Linked DNA regions of Homo sapiens: region 2 is linked to region 1. Evidence: promoter capture Hi-C in 16 types of primary human blood cells and fetal thymus (Javierre and others, 2016). All regions are on one chromosome and are shown on one strand. Each heading gives the region's core, a stretch centred on a gene start or on the middle of the fragment in contact. The rest is flanking DNA. Distances are from core to core; before and after follow the strand shown.

The links. The method cuts DNA at HindIII sites, captures the fragments that hold promoters and counts their contacts. A CHiCAGO score of 5 or more calls a contact.
Region 2: the fragment with the promoter of TCF23 here is called in contact with a fragment that was not itself captured in region 1 in 1 of 17 cell types (M2 macrophages); the score reaches 6.4 in M2 macrophages.

What each region holds. Positions count from the first base shown.
Region 1 is chr2:27,191,628-27,197,051 of GRCh38, forward strand. No RefSeq gene overlaps it. Among named protein-coding and RNA genes, the nearest start is that of ATRAID, 18 kb to the right of the region's middle. The HindIII fragment of the contact is 5,350 bases long and covers 1-5,242 here.
Region 2 is chr2:27,147,674-27,152,423 of GRCh38, forward strand. TCF23 (transcription factor 23) reads left to right here and starts at 1,331. Exons shown (of 3, transcript NM_175769.3): 1 at 1,331-1,682; 2 at 2,450-2,692. The coding sequence starts at 1,461. The HindIII fragment of the contact is 12,568 bases long and covers 1-3,451 here.

The DNA of each region.
Region 1 (5,424 bases), core at 1,318-3,817:
TTGCCATTTTGAAATAACAGTGCCTATGCAAAGACTGAGAGGGGAGCTCACTATAAGCACCATCCATACTTTGGATATTGGGGACCCCTTGTGGACAATTCAGACAGAGCGAGGGCTCTCTGAGATTGCCTGTCAAAAGCAAGTAACCAAAATTCACACATGAAAAACTGAATGGAAAGCCACACAGATGTGGCACTCACGTCGTTCAGGAAAAGCAGTTTCTCTGCTGTTGTCATGTGAGACAATCAAATTAGTCTATAAGTTTAATACAATCCTAATAAAATCTTAATAGGGTTTTAAAATTGGAATTGGAGAATTCTGATTCTCTTTTGGAAGAGAAATGTTCAATAACAGCCAAAAAAAAAAAATCTTTAAAAAGATTATGAGTAGGAATTTTCCCTGCCATATATGAAAATGTAGATCTAAATATACAGAAAGTTTATAAATATAAATCGATTTTGCAATATAAATGTAGCTTATGATAGTGGTGGCATTTAAGGTCTCGAAGGAAGAGTGGTTTTTTCAATAAATTGTATGAAATAATTGGCTATCCACTGAAGGAAAAAATAACATTAGATTGAATCTTCTACCCCATCACATCAAACACAGGTGGTAAAACGATTAAACATTTAGAGAAAAAAGTTGAAATATTAAATATTTAAACTATATTTTATTAATATTGGGGTAGTAAATGCCTTCCTCAACAAAATACAAAACCCAGGAGCTGGGTCGGGAGCGGTGGCTGGGCCAGGGACGGTGGCTTATGCCTGTAATCCCAGCACTTTGGGAGGCCGAGGTGGGTGGATCACGAGGTCAGGAGATGGAGACCTCCTGACCAACATGGTGAAACCCCGTCTCTACTAAAAATACAAAAAAAATTAGCCGAGCATGGTGGCGGGCGCCTGCAGTCTCAGCTACTCGGGAGGCTGAGGCAGGAGAATGGCGTGAACTCGGGAGGCGGAGCTTGCAGTGAGCCAAGATCGCGCCACTGCACTCCAGCCTGGGCGACAGAGTGAGACTCCGTCTCAAAAAAAAAAAAAAAAAAAAAAAAAAATTAGCCAGGCATGGTGGTGTGCGCCTGTAATCCCAGCTACTCCAGAGGTTGAGGCAGGAGAATCACTTGATCCCGGGAGGCAGAGGTTGCAGTGAGCCGAGATCGCTCCACTGCACTCCAGCCTGGGCAATAGAGCAAGACTCCATCTCAAAAACAAACAAACAATGGGAGCTATAAAAGACTGAGAGATTTGCGTTCATAAAATTTAAAACTTGAGTTAAAAGAAATACTAAAATAATCAAATTTAAAGGAAAAGGGAGTGAGGGGAAAAAACTGTTGACGAAATTACTATTCAGAACATATACAGAGTTCTGACAATGTTTTAAATTGACAAAGGATGTGACCAGGAAGTTGACAGAAAAATCTAAATCAAAAAAGAAGAAAAAGGAGGAGGAGAAAAGAAAGAGAAAAAAAGAGAAAGGTGCTCAAACTCAATACTAATCAAACAAAGCAAATTAAATGAGATTTTCTTTTTTGCCCATCAGATTATTGAACATTTAAGATAGCCCATCTAAAGCCACAGTTTTTGCTATGTGATGCTCTAGCTGCAGTACATTTTTAAAGGATTTATAATTTCCAGTGTGATTTTCTCTTTAATGCAGATGTTATTTAGGAGTATTTTTAAATTTCCTGATGTATAGGGCTTTAAGAAATACTTTGGCCGGGTGCAATGACTCACACCTGTAATCCTAGCACTTTGGGAGGCCAAGGTGGGCAGATTGTTTGAGCCTAGGAGTCTGAGACCAGCCCGGGCAATATGGTAAGATAAGACCTGCATCTCTGCAAAGAAAATTCAAAAGTATTAGCCAAGAGTGGTGGTGTGCACCTGTAGTCCCAGGTACTCAGGAGGCTGAGGTAGGAGGACCACTGGAGCCCAGGAGGTTAAGGCTGCAGTGAGCCATGATTGCACCATTGCACTCCAGTCTGGGTGACACAATGAGACCCTGTCTCAAGAAAAAGGAAGGAAAGAAGGAAGGAAGGAAGGAAGGAAGGAAGGAAGGAAGGAAGGAAGGAAGGGAGGGAGGGATTGATTTTAGTATTAGTAATACTGGAATTGTTCTTGTATTACTAATACTAAAATATTATCCTTTATAAATTGTATAAAAAGGCATAGAAATTCTGTGATAGCCATGTCTAAATCAAAAAGAATTTAAAAAAAAAAAGCATACAGAGATAAGAGATCAGGCCCCTCTTACCCCTGTCTCCCTTCCTGCTGGCCCCTCTCTCAGCCAGTGATCATTGTTAGTTTCTTCTATAGTACTCTAGAGATAGTTTATGCATATGCAAACAAGTGCTGACATATTTTATTTTATTTTTTGAGATGGAGTCACGCTCTGTTGCCCAGGCTGGAGTGCAGTGGTGCAATCTTGGCTCACTGCAAGCTCCGCCTCGCAGGTTCACGCCATTCTCCTGCCTCAGTCCCCCAAGTAGCTGGGACTACAGCCACCTGCAACCACGCCTGGCTAATTTTTTGTATTTTTAGTAAAGACAGGGTTTCACCGTGTTAGCCAGGACGGTCTCGATCTCCTGACCTTGTGATCTGCCTGCCTCGGCCTCCCAAAGTGCTGGGATTACAGGCATGAGCCACTGCGGCCAGCCAAGTACTGACATATTCTTTTGCTCATCATTTTTACTAGAAATGGTAGCATATTATATGTTATTCTGCATCTTGCTTTTTCTCCTTAATAATATATTGAAAATAGACAGCAATGCCAGTGATCATCATGTGATATCAATTGATTTAAAATATTTACCGTGAGATACACACATTTAATACATACATATTTGTAATGTTTAAAGTGAACATCTAGGCTGGGCTCAGTGGCTCACACCTGTAATCCCAGCACTTTGGGAGGCCGAGGCGGATGGATCACCTGAGGTCAGGAGTTCGAGACCAGCCTGGACAATGTGGTGAAACCCTGACTCTACCAAAAATACAAAAATTAGCCTGGCATGGTGGCAGGCACCTGTAATCCCAGCTACTCGGGAGGCTGAGGCAGAAGAATTGCTTGAACCTGGGAGGCTGAGGCAGAAGAATTGCTTGAACCCGTGCTGGCTAGTTTGTTAAAGTGAGCTGAGGTTGCATCATTGCACTCCAGCCTGGGTGACAAGAGCGAAACTCCGTCTCAAAGAGAAAATAAATAAATAAATGAAGTGAACCTCTATGATGTCCGCTACAACAGTGCTGGTACTTTTAAAGCTCATCCCTGACCACATCATCCACCCTCTTCCCTCAAGGAGCCACTATCCTGACCCTGGGGTTAATCATTGCCTTGCCTTTTTTTCATGGTTTTACCACCTTCTTATGGGGCCAAGAACAATAGAGCTTAATTTTTTCCATGTTGAACTTTAACAAAGAGAATCATAGTGTTTCCTTCTGTGACTGCTCTCTTTTGATCAACATTGTTCTGTCAATGTGTGTGATTGTGGTTAATTTGTTTGCCATTGCTACATAGCACCCCTGTAAGCACGTAACACTAGATCGTATGGACTTTTGGGTTGTCTCCAGATTGGGGTTATGTTTTTGTTTGTTTTGTTTTGTTTTGTTTGGCAGAGTCTTGCTCTGTTGCTCAGGCTAGAGTGCAGTGGCGCGATCTCAGCTCACGCTGGGCTCACAGACGTGCACGACCACGTATGGCTAATTTTTTCGTTTATTTTTTTTTTTTATTTTTAGTAGAAATGGGGTTTCTCCATGTTGGCCAGGCTAGTCTTGAACTCTTGAGCTCAAGTGATCTGCCCGCCTTGGCCTCTCGAAGTGCTAGGATTATAGACGTGAGCCATGGCGCCTGGCCTGAGGTTAGTGTGTTATTATGATAGTTCTTGTATGTCTCCTGGTTTAGGGCAACAGTTCCCAAAGTGTGGTCCACGAAACCCTAGGGGTCCCTGAGATGACATCAAGGGGTCGCTAAAGTTAAAACTGTTTTCTTTTTTTTTTTATTTTATTATTATACTTTAAGTTTTAGGGTACATGTGCACAATGTGCCAGTTAGTTACATATGTATACATGTGCCATGCTGGTGTGCTGCACCCATTAACTCATCATTTAGCATTAGGTATATCTCCTAATGCTATCCCTCCCCCCTCCCCCCACCCCACAACAGTCCCCAAAGGACTATAAATCATGCTGCTATAAAGACACATGCACACGTATGTTTATTGCGGCACTATTCACAATAGCAAAGACTTGGAACCAACCCAAATGTCCAACAATGATAGACTGGATTAAGAAAATGTGGCATATATACACCATGGAATACTATGCAGCCATAAAAAATGATGAGTTCATGTCCTTTGTAGGGACATGGATGAAATTGGAAAACTGTTTTCTTATACGGTAATACTAAAATGTAATTTGCCATTTTCACTCTATGGATATTTGCACTGATATTGTAAAAGCAATCTGGGTAAAACTGCAGCCATCTTAGCATGAATCAAGTCAATGGCTCCAAACTACCTTGTTTGTAATTGATGTGAGTTCTTCACATCATGTTATGGGTTGTTCCCTGGCTAACTACTTCCCCATGTAGCCCTGGCTGAGGTGAGAGGATTGCTCAAGTTGAGCCTGGGAGACAGAGGTTATGGTGAGCCAAGATGGTGACACTGCACTCCAGCCTAGGCGACAGAGCAAGGCCCTGTCTCAAAAAAAAAGAAACAAACATATATGTAATTTATGTGTGTGTTGGATCATGATGTAAAATATATTTCTTACTGTGGGTCTCAGTCAAAAAAGTTTTCAAGCCACTGCTCCAGGAAGATTCTAGAATGATATAGCACCATCGCCGCCAACTTAGCACCTCACTGTACTAGGGACTGATGTCCCAGAAAACACTCTGTGAACACAGGTAACAATATCCTATCCAAAAGGACATTGTTTTCATGACAACACAAATACAACTTGGTGGGCTACTGGGAGTCACAGACCCTCATTTTAGCTCTGCCTCAAGCACTTACCAGCCAAGCAATCCAGTTACTTTATATATTAAAAACGCAGGCGATATAGGAAGTATTTCTTTCCCAAGGAATAATATCAGGTAGTATATGAAAAGTGCTTTGAAAACTACAATGAATAATTATTACAATAACTGATATTTAAGGAATGCATATATACATATATGTACATATATGCACGCAACATAGTTTTGAGTCCTTAACCCTGTGAATTTCACATTTAACAGATGAAGAAACTGAAGCTTAAGGTTAAATGCATGCACCAGTATTTGAACCCAAGCCTTAGACTACACCCTCATAACCATCAAACAGTACTTTTTAAATGCTGCATGAAGAAAAAGGTTTACTATGTTAGAAATGAAAGAGCATCTTTGCCCTCTGTTATAAGGTTTGAAAGTTGTACGAATTGGATCTTTTTGCCA
Region 2 (4,750 bases), core at 81-2,580, 45 kb before region 1:
ACCTCTGCCTCCCGGGTTCAAGCAATTCTCCTGCCTCAGCCTCCCGCGTAGCTGGGACTACAGGCACGTGGCACCACACCCAGCTAAATTTTTGTATTTTTAGTAGAGACGGGGTTTCACCAAGTTGGCCAGGATGGTCTCCGTCTCTTGACCTCATGATCTACCTGCCTCTGCCTCCCAAAGTGCTGGGATTACAGGCGTGAGCCACCGCGCCCGGCCTCTTTTTCCCTTTCTCTGTGGTGGGCTGCATATCTTTCTCACTGTACATCCACCTTTTTACTTTCTCCTTACTTATTTGATCTCCCCTGAGGTTCGAGAATGGGGGACAAGGGACATCAGGCTGGATTCTGCTACAGGCAGAGGTCCCTGGAAGACAGCAGGGGCTGCTGTGGCAGATTCGCGATTCCTTCAGCCCGCCTTCTCCTAACTAGCTCTTGGAGGATGTGATGCAACTCAGGAACACCATGGTCCTTGCCTTCAGAGACCTCATGTCTAGCATGGGGACAGACGCGTGAGTAACCCATGGGAGGCAGGCTAGCATCAGGTGAGGGGTAGCCTTCAAAGTCCAACTGACGGCTTGGATTTTCATCCCACCCCACCACTTAACGGATGTTTGACATTGGGCAAGTTATTTCACCTCCCAGTATACCAGTTCCCACACATCTAAACTGAGTCTCTTTTTTTCTTAAAAGGTTGCTCTGAGAAATAAATAAGATGCTTAGCACAGTGCCTGGCACACAGTAATCTATGAATATCGAACTTCTGGGAAAGTAGCCAGGCTGTGATTGTACCAATCAAACAGGGACCCATGGGCTCTGGGCCTGCGGGATTTGAAGTCTTCACGAATGAAAGGCGGAGACCTGAAGGATGGGCAGTACCTCCTGGCAGAGCTGGAGGAAGGTATTCTGGGGCGTGGAAAGGTAAATTTAAACACAGAGTGGAAATCGGAGGCATATTTGGGGCATGGCAAATCGCGCTCTGTGGCTGGAAGGTCACGTTCATTGGCAAGGGGAGGAAAGGCCTTTCAGGGATGTATGCAGGCAGCCTTCTGGCACAGACGAAGGAGGTTCAAGTCCTCTCCATGGACGTGAGCTCCAAAGCGGAAGTCACAGGTCCACCATAGGACCACTGTTGAGGTTAGGCATGGCCGGAAAGGAGCTCCCTTCCCCACTATCCTCCTGCCTTCTTCAGCATGGGCCTCCTCCCAAGGCTTGGCCACTCCCAGCATCCAGCACCCCCACCTCTCAGCTGGGTTAGGAGGCAGGCGGAGGCTTTTCGCGGGGGCTGTGCCTGGTGGGCGGTTTTCCCAGAGCAGGGAGCAAACAGGACTGAGTTGGCGCCAGCTTCCTCGGATGTAGATATTGCTGGCTGGATGACCAGCCACAGCCAGCTAGCTTGAGTCCAAGGCCTCCTCAGGCACTGTGTTTCTGCTCTGTGGGCTGCAGCCCCAGTGGGGTGGCATGTCACAGAGGAAGGCCAGAGGGCCACCAGCCATGCCAGGGGTGGGGCATAGCCAGACTCAGGCCAAAGCACGGTTGCTGCCAGGCGCTGACAGGAAGAGGAGCCGCCTCAGCAGGACAAGGCAGGACCCGTGGGAAGAAAGAAGCTGGAGCAACCAGAGATGGAGCAGAGCTACCCCTGGCCCTCGAGGGACCAGGGCTGGGGGCCTGGCTCTTGGCAGGGTAAGGAAATCCTGCACCTGCAGAGGGGTCCAGGGGAGGAAGGGGTTGGAAGGTGGGGAGATGTCACCTCTGATGGTACAGCCTCACTCAGTATTACCATTCCTGCCCAAGAGAGGGGACACTGGCCCCTTAGACTCCAAGGCATCATGCTTTGGGTAGTTGGGATAGATCAGAGCTGGTCTTAACCAGAGTGCAGCTCAGAGAGCTGCACTAACTCACTTCTCTTGAGGAAACTGAGGCCGGGAAGAGGGATGTGAATTTCCCAAGGTCACTGAGCAGCAGCCAGTGGTAGGACTGGGACTTCAGCCTGTGTGCTTTGACCCCTGGTTCTGTGTCTTTCCTCTTTCCCACAGCAGCCTCGTCGTCTCAGGACCTGGCTAGGTCAAGGGTCCGCCCTCCCAAACAGGGTGTAGCTCTGAACTCCCCCTGGCCCCAGCACACCCTGATAAGCAGGATTCAGATTGGGCATGGGACAGGACAAAGGCTCTGAGGAGGCATGAGTGGAGTAGTAGAGAGAACACAGGACTCTGGGTTCTGAGCCAAGCTCTGCCATCCTGCAGCCATCTGACCCCTGGCCAGGCCTTCCCCCAACTTCCTCAGCTGTGAAACGCGGCAGGGCTGCAGATGACGTAGGTGGGCAGAGGCCCTCTGGTGCCTACTGCTAGACACCCTTCTACTCTGGTGGGAGACCTTGTGCTCAAACGCTCTCAGAAGTCAGGGCAGTTGGGAGTCCAGGTCACACACACTCACTGGGGCCCTCTGTGCAGAGCGAGGCCAGTCCTGAGAATGCCGCGCGGGAGCGGAGCCGGGTCAGGACGCTGCGCCAGGCCTTCTTGGCCTTGCAGGCTGCTCTGCCTGCCGTGCCGCCCGACACCAAGCTCTCCAAGTTGGACGTGCTGGTGCTCGCCGCCAGCTACATAGCCCACCTCACCCGCACACTCGGCCACGAGTTGCCTGGCCCTGCCTGGCCGCCCTTCCTGCGTGGACTCCGCTACTTGCACCCTCTCAAGGTAAGTCACAAGCCCTGGGACTTGAGAGGCGGATCTTAATGCCCAGGGCCTTGGAGAAAGGGATTGGAATGAGGGGGGACATTGGACTTGGGCCCCCTGCCCTGTGCAGAACTGACGTCGGAGCCAATTTCTCCTGCTGTCTCAGAGGGAGAGGAGCCAAGGCTGACCCTTGGGGCTGCGCTGACCCTGGGTTTCTCATGGGAGTGTGGCTGGAAATGGCTTCATGGGAATGCACCTCCTTGAAGAGGAGGGAAAGACTCTGGGGTTCTTAGAGTCACAGGGAAAAATGTAGCAGGTTCCAAGTCTGGGGCCTGGGAAAGGAAATTATACCAAGGAGAGTCCTAGATCCCCATGCAGCTTCAGCCCATTGTGCCTGCCTTGGTGCTTTCTAGGCTTCTGTTGCAAGAGAGGTCTGTCCTCCAGGAGAACAACGGTCTGAGGGACCGTCATTCTAGAAGCAACCAAGCTGGGGGAGTTAGCAGGCAGCAGTACAGGGAAGGCGCGCACCACTTGCCAGACTGCAATCTAGCTTTTCTCAACCTCAGTTTTATTACACGTAAAATAGAAGCTAACATGAGCCTTACTTCTCTTCCAGAGTACAAAATGGAAAGTCTAATGAACATTAATCATCTTTGCAATAACAGCTAACAGTTGAGTGCTAAAGATAGGCCAGGAGCTGGGTTAAGTACGTTAGTGTATTTTTGTCTTTTAATCCATGCAAAAACCAAATGAGGATTACTTTACAGATGAGGAAACTGAAGCTTAGGGAGGTTATGAGGCTGAAAGCGGTTTGAACTCAGGGGTGTCTGACTTCAGACCCTAAGCTCATAGCCACTAAACAGTCTCCAGGGACAGCGCCATAAGGAGCTGGTTGAAGAGTGCACTGTGTTAAAAAGGAAGGGTCATCTTTGCCCTCTGAGGATAACATTGCAGTGGTATCAACTTTTTTATTTTATTATTTATTTATATATGTACTATTATTTTTTTGAGACAGAGTTTCACTCTGTCGCCCAGGCTGGAGTGCAGTGGCGCAATCTTGGCTCACTGCAACCTCCACCTCCCGGTTCAAGTGATTCTCCTCCCTCAGCCTCCCGAGTAGGTGGGATTATAGGCGTGCACCACCATGCCCGGCTAATTTTTCTATTTTTAGTAGAGATAGGGTTTCACCACTTTGGCCAGGTTGGTCTCAAACTCCCGACCTCAGATGATCCACCCACTACGGCCTCCCAAAGTGCTGGGATTACAGGTGTGAGCCACCACACCCAACTATTTATTTATTTACTTATTGTTGAGACAGGGTCTCACTGTCGCCCATGCTGGAGTGCAGTAGCGCAATCATAGCTTACTGTACCCTCAAACTCCTGGGCTCAAGGAATCCTCCCACCTCAGCTTCCCCAGTAGCTGGGACTACAGCCTTATGCCACCACACCTGGCTTTTTTTTTTCTTTTTTTTTTTGTAGAGACGGGGTCTCACTTTGTTCCACAGGCTTGTCTCAAACTCTAAGCTCAAGTGATCCTCTCACCTCTCAACTTTATTTTTATGATACTTTTCACCACCTCTTTCCCCTAAATGTCATAGTTCTGAAATGTCTTAAAACTTGGTTTTTTTCTTCAATGCAAATGTAGCTAAAATGTATAAATTTGAGACTAAGTGGGGAACTCTGAAATGTCAGTGGTGGTGCAGGGTCCTGGGATGATATAGTAGTTTCCTTCGCTGTAAAATAGTGACCAAGGCAAGGCCCTTGCTTGTAGTAGGTGATCAACAGCTATGCTGAAGAATGAACCAATGAGGGCCCGGTTAGGTCCAGCACTCCAGCACATCCACAGGGTGGGGCAGTTGGCCAGGAAGCAGCTCCCTCAGCTCCCAGGTGGAGAGGTTGTGAACAGGAGGGCGACCTCAGGGCAATCAACCTGGTGTATTCTGGGACTGCTCATGCTCCTGCTGGAAAGATGGGCAAACCTTGGAGGACCCAGCTTGGAGTTTTTCCTGGCTCTGCTGCTCTGCCCATTGCTCAGCCTCTGGCTGTTGCCAGCTCTGCCCAGGCCAGCTGATCTTCT